Linked DNA regions of Homo sapiens: region 2 is linked to region 1. The links are contacts of gene promoters, found by promoter capture Hi-C in blood cells and fetal thymus (Javierre and others, 2016). All regions are on one chromosome and are shown on one strand. The core of a region is centred on a gene start or on the middle of the fragment in contact, and the rest is flanking DNA. Distances in the headings are between cores, read along the strand shown. Region 1 overlaps SCN4B (sodium voltage-gated channel beta subunit 4). Region 2 holds the start of KMT2A (lysine methyltransferase 2A).

Region 1 (3,624 bases), core at 1,050-3,549:
ACCTAATGACTCCTGCAAGCACCGCACTCATCTCCCTCTGTCACCTCCCACCCAGCCTTTGCTGACACCATGTCACCTGCCCAACTGAATTTTGGCCCCCTGTCAAGACCTGGATCAATCCCACAGCTCTGCCCGTCAGCACCCTCTGAGGTCAGCATTTAATTATAACCAGAGTTGGTCTCTTGTGGCTTCCCTGTGAAAGTCTCAGGTTGGATCCCCCACTAGATTGTAGAGTGAGTACAATCTAGTGAGTTCACTCCCACCCCCACCGCAGCCGCGCCAATGCTCCTGCAGCTCTCCCTCTCTTCCTCTCTCTTTTCCCTGCCAGTCCAGCTTCTCAGCCCTTCCCTCATTCAGACTCTTCTCATTCCTTCTCTCCAAGCTTTCCAAGGCCTTTCTCTCTCCTGTTTCTTAGACTAAACTATTGATTTTTAGACAAGCAATCCAAGCTCCGGGTGTTTCTTAAGACCAGACAGAGGACTCTAGCCAAGAATTCCAACAGTCCCCGAATTCTGGCAACACGATCTAAGCATCTCTCCCAGTTACATCCTTCCTGGCAGGCTCTGAAAAGAATACTGGGAGAAAGGGTGGCAAAAGGTGGGTTCTGGGGACCATCGCAGTGGGTCTCAGTCCAGAAGGGACCAGAGCGTAGGAGGCGAGGCATGGGTGAGGGAGGCTGGGCTGTACTGTTCTTCCTCCAAATACTTACAATCTTGAATGCGTCACTGCTGTTGTAGGTCCACCGGAAGTGGAGGTCCTCGAAGCCAAAGCAGCTGGAGAAGGTGCAGGGCAGCAGGATCTCCGTGCCATTGACAGCGTAGATGTCGGTGGCCTTTCCCACAGACACCTCCAGCGACAGGGTTACGGGGAGCAGGAAGAGGCCTGTGTAAGGAGCACCGCCTCCCTTAATAAAACCCCACCAGCCTGGAGCTCTGGAAGGGGATGCTTAGGCAGGGCGGAGTAGCTTGGCCAGGCAGGTAGGTCTCTATCACCCTCAGTGCCAACCTCGGGAGGATGGCTGTCTACTCCAATCAGCACCGCCTGGGCCACCCTCCATCATTCTCCATTTCTCCCCTGGAAAGGACTGAATTCTGGACCAGGGAGTAGCCCTTGTTGCGCTCTGGATGACCACCAGGGGTCACCCCAACCCAAGGAAACAAAGGCCTGGCCACTGCCGCGAACCGCGCCCCGGCTCCGCCCCTCACCTGGGGACGCAGTGCCTGGAAGCGCTCCTGCCGCACCCACTCCAGGACGCGCAGGGCGGGCTCCCTTCTGTTTGCAGGGGAATTCCCCTAGGACAGTACGCGCCTCTCGCCAGGTTTTCAGGACTGACGGGCGGGGCGGTCGAGGAGGGGGAAGAGCCGGGTCCCGTAAGGTGAAGAAGAGAAACGCGGCCGCCGCAGTCCCGGGCCGCCGTCCAGTAGCCTCTCGTTCCCCCGCCCTGGAGGCTCCTCCCTGGTCCCCAGGGGCAGAGAGGCAGAAGGACACGTTCGGGCTGGACCTCGCTGGGCCAGCCGAGTCCGACGCCCTCTGGCCGCCAAACGGGACCCTGGGAACCGCAGGAAGACGGCCTGGCAGGGGGGAACACGGCGGGGGTGGGGACCGACGCGGGGCTTGGAGCTTGGCAGCCGCGGGGGCGCGCGGGCGCAGCCAGGGTGGGAAAGTCAGTGGCAGAAGACACCCTGGGGAGGGATTCCGGGCCAGCCCGAGTGCACGCGCGCGGGGGCGGGACGGGGAGGGCGCTGGACCCGCGGTCCCCTCCTGAGCCCTGCAGCCCGGCCTTCTCGCCACACTCCGCCCCCTCGTCCCCGAGCGCCCCCAGGCTTCTTTCTCACGCTTCGAACCTCCGCCCCAGCACTCCGATGCGGCCCCCTCCGCTGGGACTAGGCCTCTCCACTCACGGCCTCCAAACTCCCGCTCCGGAGTCCTTGTAAGGGGGCCTGGTTCCCCGCCACCCCGCCCCACACACACACCCACCCCCAGTCCTGCAGATGCCCCAAGGAAACCCCACTCGCCTCAAGGTCGGTGGAGGCGGGGGCGGGGAGGGTGTCTGGAAGTGGATGCCTGCCTCACCTCCTCCCTAGAGGACACTGGCACCTTCCAACCCCACTCTCAGGAAGGCCCTCTGTTGTCTAACTTAATTCCCTGTTCTGCATCATAAACCTCTTGTTTTGCCCCCACCGGATGATAATGCGTCTGAGCAATGCTTTTCAAATGACAGAAAAGGATCTCCAAGGACAGCAGGCAGCCCTGCTTGCTCAGCTTCTTCCTGTGCCCTTAGCTTCTGATGACAAAGTGAAGTGCTTATATCCCCCAGCCCTAAAATCACACCCCGTGGTCCAGTAACCCCATCGTGATTCGGCCATTGTCGCTAACAATAGTACTAGCTGATATTAACTGAGCATCTACTATGTGCCAGGCACATTTCATCCTCACGGCCTGTCCTATGAGTCACGTACTATTATAGGTCCACATTGTAGGTGAGACAACTGAGCCTAGAGAGGTTATGTAACTTGCCTAAGAGACCCAGATCTACCCACCAGGGCTCCAATTAGTGCTGGGAAGTTATTTCAATTAGCCTTTATTTTTGGCCAGCTCCTAGGATTTGTGGCCAACCAGGATTTGTTCTAGAGCCATGGTTTTCAAACTTGAGAGCGCATCAGAATCCCCTGGAGAACAGTTACGGCTGGCTCCGCCCAGCCCCTGGAGTTCTGATTCAGGTCTGGAGTGGAGCCTGAGCTTTTACATTTCGAGAAAGTTCCCAGGGAATGCTGTGCGCAGGGACCACACTTTGAGAACCACGGTGCGAGAGGATTTGTGCATACTAACTACGACTTTTATTAGAATGCTCAAAGGCAGGTATAATGTTCCCATTTTATATATGATGAAACTGAGGCTCAGAGAGTTGACTTGCCCAGGGCCACAGAGTAAATGGTGAATTTGAGACTGAGCAGTTACTATAGGATAGGAGAGGTATTTTATATACACTGTCTCATTTAACCCTCATCATAATCCTATAAGTTACTATTTTTATTCCCAATAAACAAATGAGGAAACAGGCTTAAAAAGATTACCTTGCTCATGGCCACACACCCAGTGAGTGGAATAAGCAGCGTTCAGATATTAGCCCCTTTCCACCACTCTGTGACCAACCACACTCTCCAAGAAAAACACTGCTATCAGGGCTTAGCACTCCATAGAACTCCTGCCTTTCTGTTTACCTCTGCCCTCCTCCGCCCCATCTCCCCCAGAGGTCTAGGGACAGAAGCCAGACACAAGATCCCACTCTCCAGTCTGCAGCCAGCACTAGAACCTTTTGGTGGGAGATACCAACTCTGCTTCCCACCCTCCACAGCCCCCACAAACAGGAAGTGAATGCAGAGCAGTGGACAGGGAAGCTGTCAGACAAGGCAGCTTCCTGATAGCTAATGGCCTCCCTCAGGGCACCAAGGAGTGTGGCAGCTCCTCCTCATCAGCATACCGGTCCAGGAATCAGGGTCCTGGAGGAGATGGGGGAACTCAAATCCGTGCCCAAATCTCCCCACCTCAACCCTAGCCAGAAAGAGATATTCAAGAGCACAAAAGATGCGTGCGAAAAGGAAATCTTATTGATTGCTTTAAATA
Region 2 (3,796 bases), core at 903-3,402, 290 kb after region 1:
AATCTGTTGACACAGTTATATAAAGCCTGTCATTCAGTCCCCTGCCTATTACCTCTGCAGACCGTTATGCATATTAAAGAAGGGGGGGCGGCAAATACAAAAGAAAAATAAGAGAGACGAGAGAGAGAGAGAAAGAGAGAGAGAGAGAGAGAGAACGAACAAATCAGGATGCTTGAGGGAATCCACGTGGTCGCCAATCTGTAACTGATCAGAGCAGCTACACTGAAGCAAAAACCCCAGCGCCCAACGCTAAATATATTGCAATGGAGAAACCGTCCACAATGGGGTGTCTCTGTCCTTAGCAGAGCCTTGGGGCTGCCGTTTAAGACCCTCCTGCTACTCCCACCCTTTTAGCATCTAGTAAACCACGCGCTGTAACAACGGAATCTTGTTCTGTGTATTGCGTTGTGCGAGTGTGCGCTTTGCAAACCATCTGGGCCCCATCCTGCGCGGTTGGAACGAAGATCGATTCGGGACGAGTTGGGGGAGTTGAGGCTTGCCTGTGTCTCCTCCCTTTCATTGCTCCTCTCCAGCCCCCATCCCATCGTCCGCTCTGCACAAATGTTTCGCCAGTGGAGGGACGTAGGTTTTCAGCACCAGGAGGCTGTGGACCTTCTCTGGAGGCGTGAAGTGCACCCTCCGGAGGGCCAGAGCTGAGTGCAACCTGCTCACAACGACCCTCTCCCTCCTTCCCAAATTCGCCGCCCCAGGCTGTAATATTACATGCAGTGCGCTGTACCGGTGCGGGAGTCCAGGAAGGCTGCATGACCTTCCAGCGAACTCCCCCTCGGCTTGGGGGATGGAGGCTGCCCCGGGGCCTGCAGGCTGTGTATCGATCCCCCAGCCTCAGCCAACGCAAGTTCTCCCGACACAAACCCCTCCCTACCCTCTCGGCTTTCCCAGCCTTGCAGGCGTCTAACGCTATGCTCGAGGCGCCCTCCCCTCTTTCCCGCAATAAAGTAAACCCGGTGGATATTCATTCCCCTCCCTAACTCGCCTCCTTCTTTCCCCCTCCCCCCTCAGCTTACTAACCCCGCGCACAGAGCTCGCCGCCGGCGGGCCCCTTCCACCCAGTGTATCATAATGCCCAACGCTCTCCTCCTCCCCCTCTCTTAATCAGAAACGTGCTCGCGAGCCCCCCTCCCTCTGCGTGCATACATTAGGGTCTGCTTTGCATGCAGCGGCAGGCAGAGACCGGAGGAAGAAGGGGCGGGGGCGCTTTTGCCCGCCTCTTCCCTCCAGGCCCCGTTAGCCACCCAGCTTCAGCTTCGTTGTAACACCGCGTCGTTAGCGGAGCACGCCGTGGCCTCAGTGCCCGGGCTGGAGAAACACAACCCAACTCCCTGCAGAAGGGCACGAAAGCCAGACGAGTGCACAGTAGAGCGAGGAGGTGGCAGGAGACCTGCCACTCGGTGTGTGCTTTTTGGAAAGAGCTCCAGCATGAAAATGGGAGGGGCTCCTTTTTTATTTTTTAAAGTGCGTTCATTGAGGGCCTTTCTGTTTTGCATATAGTAAACTGGGCAGCGCTTCTGTTTTGCATGTAGTACAATAAGGGCTCTTTTATTCTAGAAGCGTTCAATTCGGGCTAACCCATCTTGTATCCGTGCCCTGGGGCGGAGGAGAAGGCTCACTGCTCCCCGACCCAGCCGCCGCGTTATACTGGAAGCTGCTCTCCCGGGCTGTTCGATTCCCAGCGCGTCCCGGGAACGTGTGTAATCGGCCTCTCGGCGCTCAAGGCTGCAGGCGGCCCGGCTCCCTACGCCTCCATCCTCCGCGTAGTCCTCGCCCCCTCCCCCTCTCTCCGGAACCCGCGCTCTGCTCCGGGCTCCCGGGCTTCCTTCCCCCCTCCTTTTCCCGAGCAATGCCTCTCCCGGAGGGCGGGGCATGCAGTTATCCAGGTTGCGGGGCCGGCGGGCGGGCAGGAGGCGGCGGCCCGGGCCTCGGGATGGAGTTGCAGCGCCCAGGCGTCAGAGGCGGAGGCCCGAGGCCGCTATACAGATTGCGGGGCTGGCGGGCGCGGCCCGGCGCTCTGCATAGCGGCCGGCAGGGTGCAGGCGGCCGGGCGGCGCAGAGCTGGTTAGGCAGGTTCCGGGGCCCCGTGCCCCCCCCTCCGCCTCCCCGCCCCCCTGTGTTGTCGCCTCTCCCTCTCGCTGCTTCACTTCACGGGGCGAACATGGCGCACAGCTGTCGGTGGCGCTTCCCCGCCCGACCCGGGACCACCGGGGGCGGCGGCGGCGGGGGGCGCCGGGGCCTAGGGGGCGCCCCGCGGCAACGCGTCCCGGCCCTGCTGCTTCCCCCCGGGCCCCCGGTCGGCGGTGGCGGCCCCGGGGCGCCCCCCTCCCCCCCGGCTGTGGCGGCCGCGGCGGCGGCGGCGGGAAGCAGCGGGGCTGGGGTTCCAGGGGGAGCGGCCGCCGCCTCAGCAGCCTCCTCGTCGTCCGCCTCGTCTTCGTCTTCGTCATCGTCCTCAGCCTCTTCAGGGCCGGCCCTGCTCCGGGTGGGCCCGGGCTTCGACGCGGCGCTGCAGGTCTCGGCCGCCATCGGCACCAACCTGCGCCGGTTCCGGGCCGTGTTTGGGGAGAGCGGCGGGGGAGGCGGCAGCGGAGAGGTAAGGGGGCGAGGAACCCCCAGGTCCGGGGTCTCGACCCTCTGCGGAGCCCCCTCCCCTCCCCCATCCGGGATTGAGGAGCATCCCAATTCTGGGACCATCTCGGGGTCCCTGACCCGGGGCGAATGGCTCTCCCATCTTGGGACCCCCATGCAGGGCTGCAGACCCCCAGGCGCCCCCACCCCGGGGTTTGGGCCCATCTGGCTGAGGGCGTTTGCCCCCCGCTCTCCTCCCCCTGACCCTTCCCCAAATCCCTTGGCACAGACCCCCTCGCCGGGGTTTCCCATCCCGGGACTGAACCCCTCCTCCCTTTCACAGATTACCTCATCCGAGCAAGATTCCTCCCTCCCTCCCTCCTAGAGACCTGATCCCGCCACATCCCCGCCTCCCTCTCTGGGCAGATGTGTTACTCCTAGGGCAGTTTTCCTCTCGGGCGTCTCTCGGGTGATGGCCTCATCCAGGGCCACGTTCTCCTGGCCCTTGGGGATCGTGTCCCTTCCAGCACCTTGCTTTCGAAAACCCGATGAACCCTCGCGCCATCCCCGGGCCAGGTCCCTATACTGCCAGCCACTCCCCCTTCCTTCACCTCCACCCTCTACCCCCACCCCAAGCAGACCGATCCTCCCCCATCCCGCCCTACCCCACCGGGGAAAATCTCTCCTCTGCACCTTGCCTGGTCTCACCTCCTTTCCCTCTGAAGATAACGGTGATTCCTCATACAGCAGTCTCTTCCCCCCCCCGCCCCGTCTTACAGGGCTACAGTTTCTAGCCTATTGGTAGCCGGGAATTACTCTACCTTCACTCCACCCTTTCCCTCCTTTAGAATGAAGGATTAGTGGCATCTTGGAGGGGAAAATAGTCCACTGTCCCCTAGGCTTAGAGAAGAGCAGCTTTCCACCACTCCCCTTGGAGAGGAGGCAGGCTTTCCCTCCAGCTCTGGGGAAGGGGGCCCCTGTGAGGGGAGGTGTTTGTTGGGGGACTGAGGCAGCATCCTCCCAGGGGAAGCAGCTGCTCTCCTACCCCACCCACTGCGCCTGAGAGCACGCAGTCTCCAACCCGAGCTCCCTCCCGCCCTTCTCTTCTCGTCATTTCATTATTGATCCACCTTTTCCTAGGCCAATCCTGGGGCTTGGAAGGGGTGGGGGAAGCCAGGTTGGGGTGAGGAGAGTAGATAAGGGACAGTTATACTTT

What was found. The method cuts DNA at HindIII sites, captures the fragments that hold promoters and counts their contacts. A CHiCAGO score of 5 or more calls a contact.
Region 2: a contact is called between the fragment with the promoter of KMT2A here and a fragment that was not itself captured in region 1, in 1 of 17 cell types (neutrophils). The highest score is 6.5, in neutrophils.

The regions. Positions count from the first base shown.
Region 1 is chr11:118,144,348-118,147,971 of GRCh38, forward strand. SCN4B (sodium voltage-gated channel beta subunit 4) reads right to left here. Exons shown (of 5, transcript NM_174934.4): 2 at 710-882. Among named protein-coding and RNA genes, the nearest start is that of SCN4B, 6.7 kb to the right of the region's middle. RefSeq lists enhancers at 1-656, 873-1,072 and a silencer at 1,493-1,562. The HindIII fragment of the contact is 3,839 bases long and covers 381-3,624 here.
Region 2 is chr11:118,434,340-118,438,135 of GRCh38, forward strand. It overlaps KMT2A (lysine methyltransferase 2A), which reads left to right and starts at 2,153. Exons shown (of 36, transcript NM_001197104.2): 1 at 2,153-2,605. The coding sequence starts at 2,174. RefSeq lists enhancers at 1,125-2,122, 1,322-1,461, 2,123-3,121, 3,122-3,796 and a silencer at 1,772-2,251. The HindIII fragment of the contact is 8,732 bases long and covers 1-3,796 here.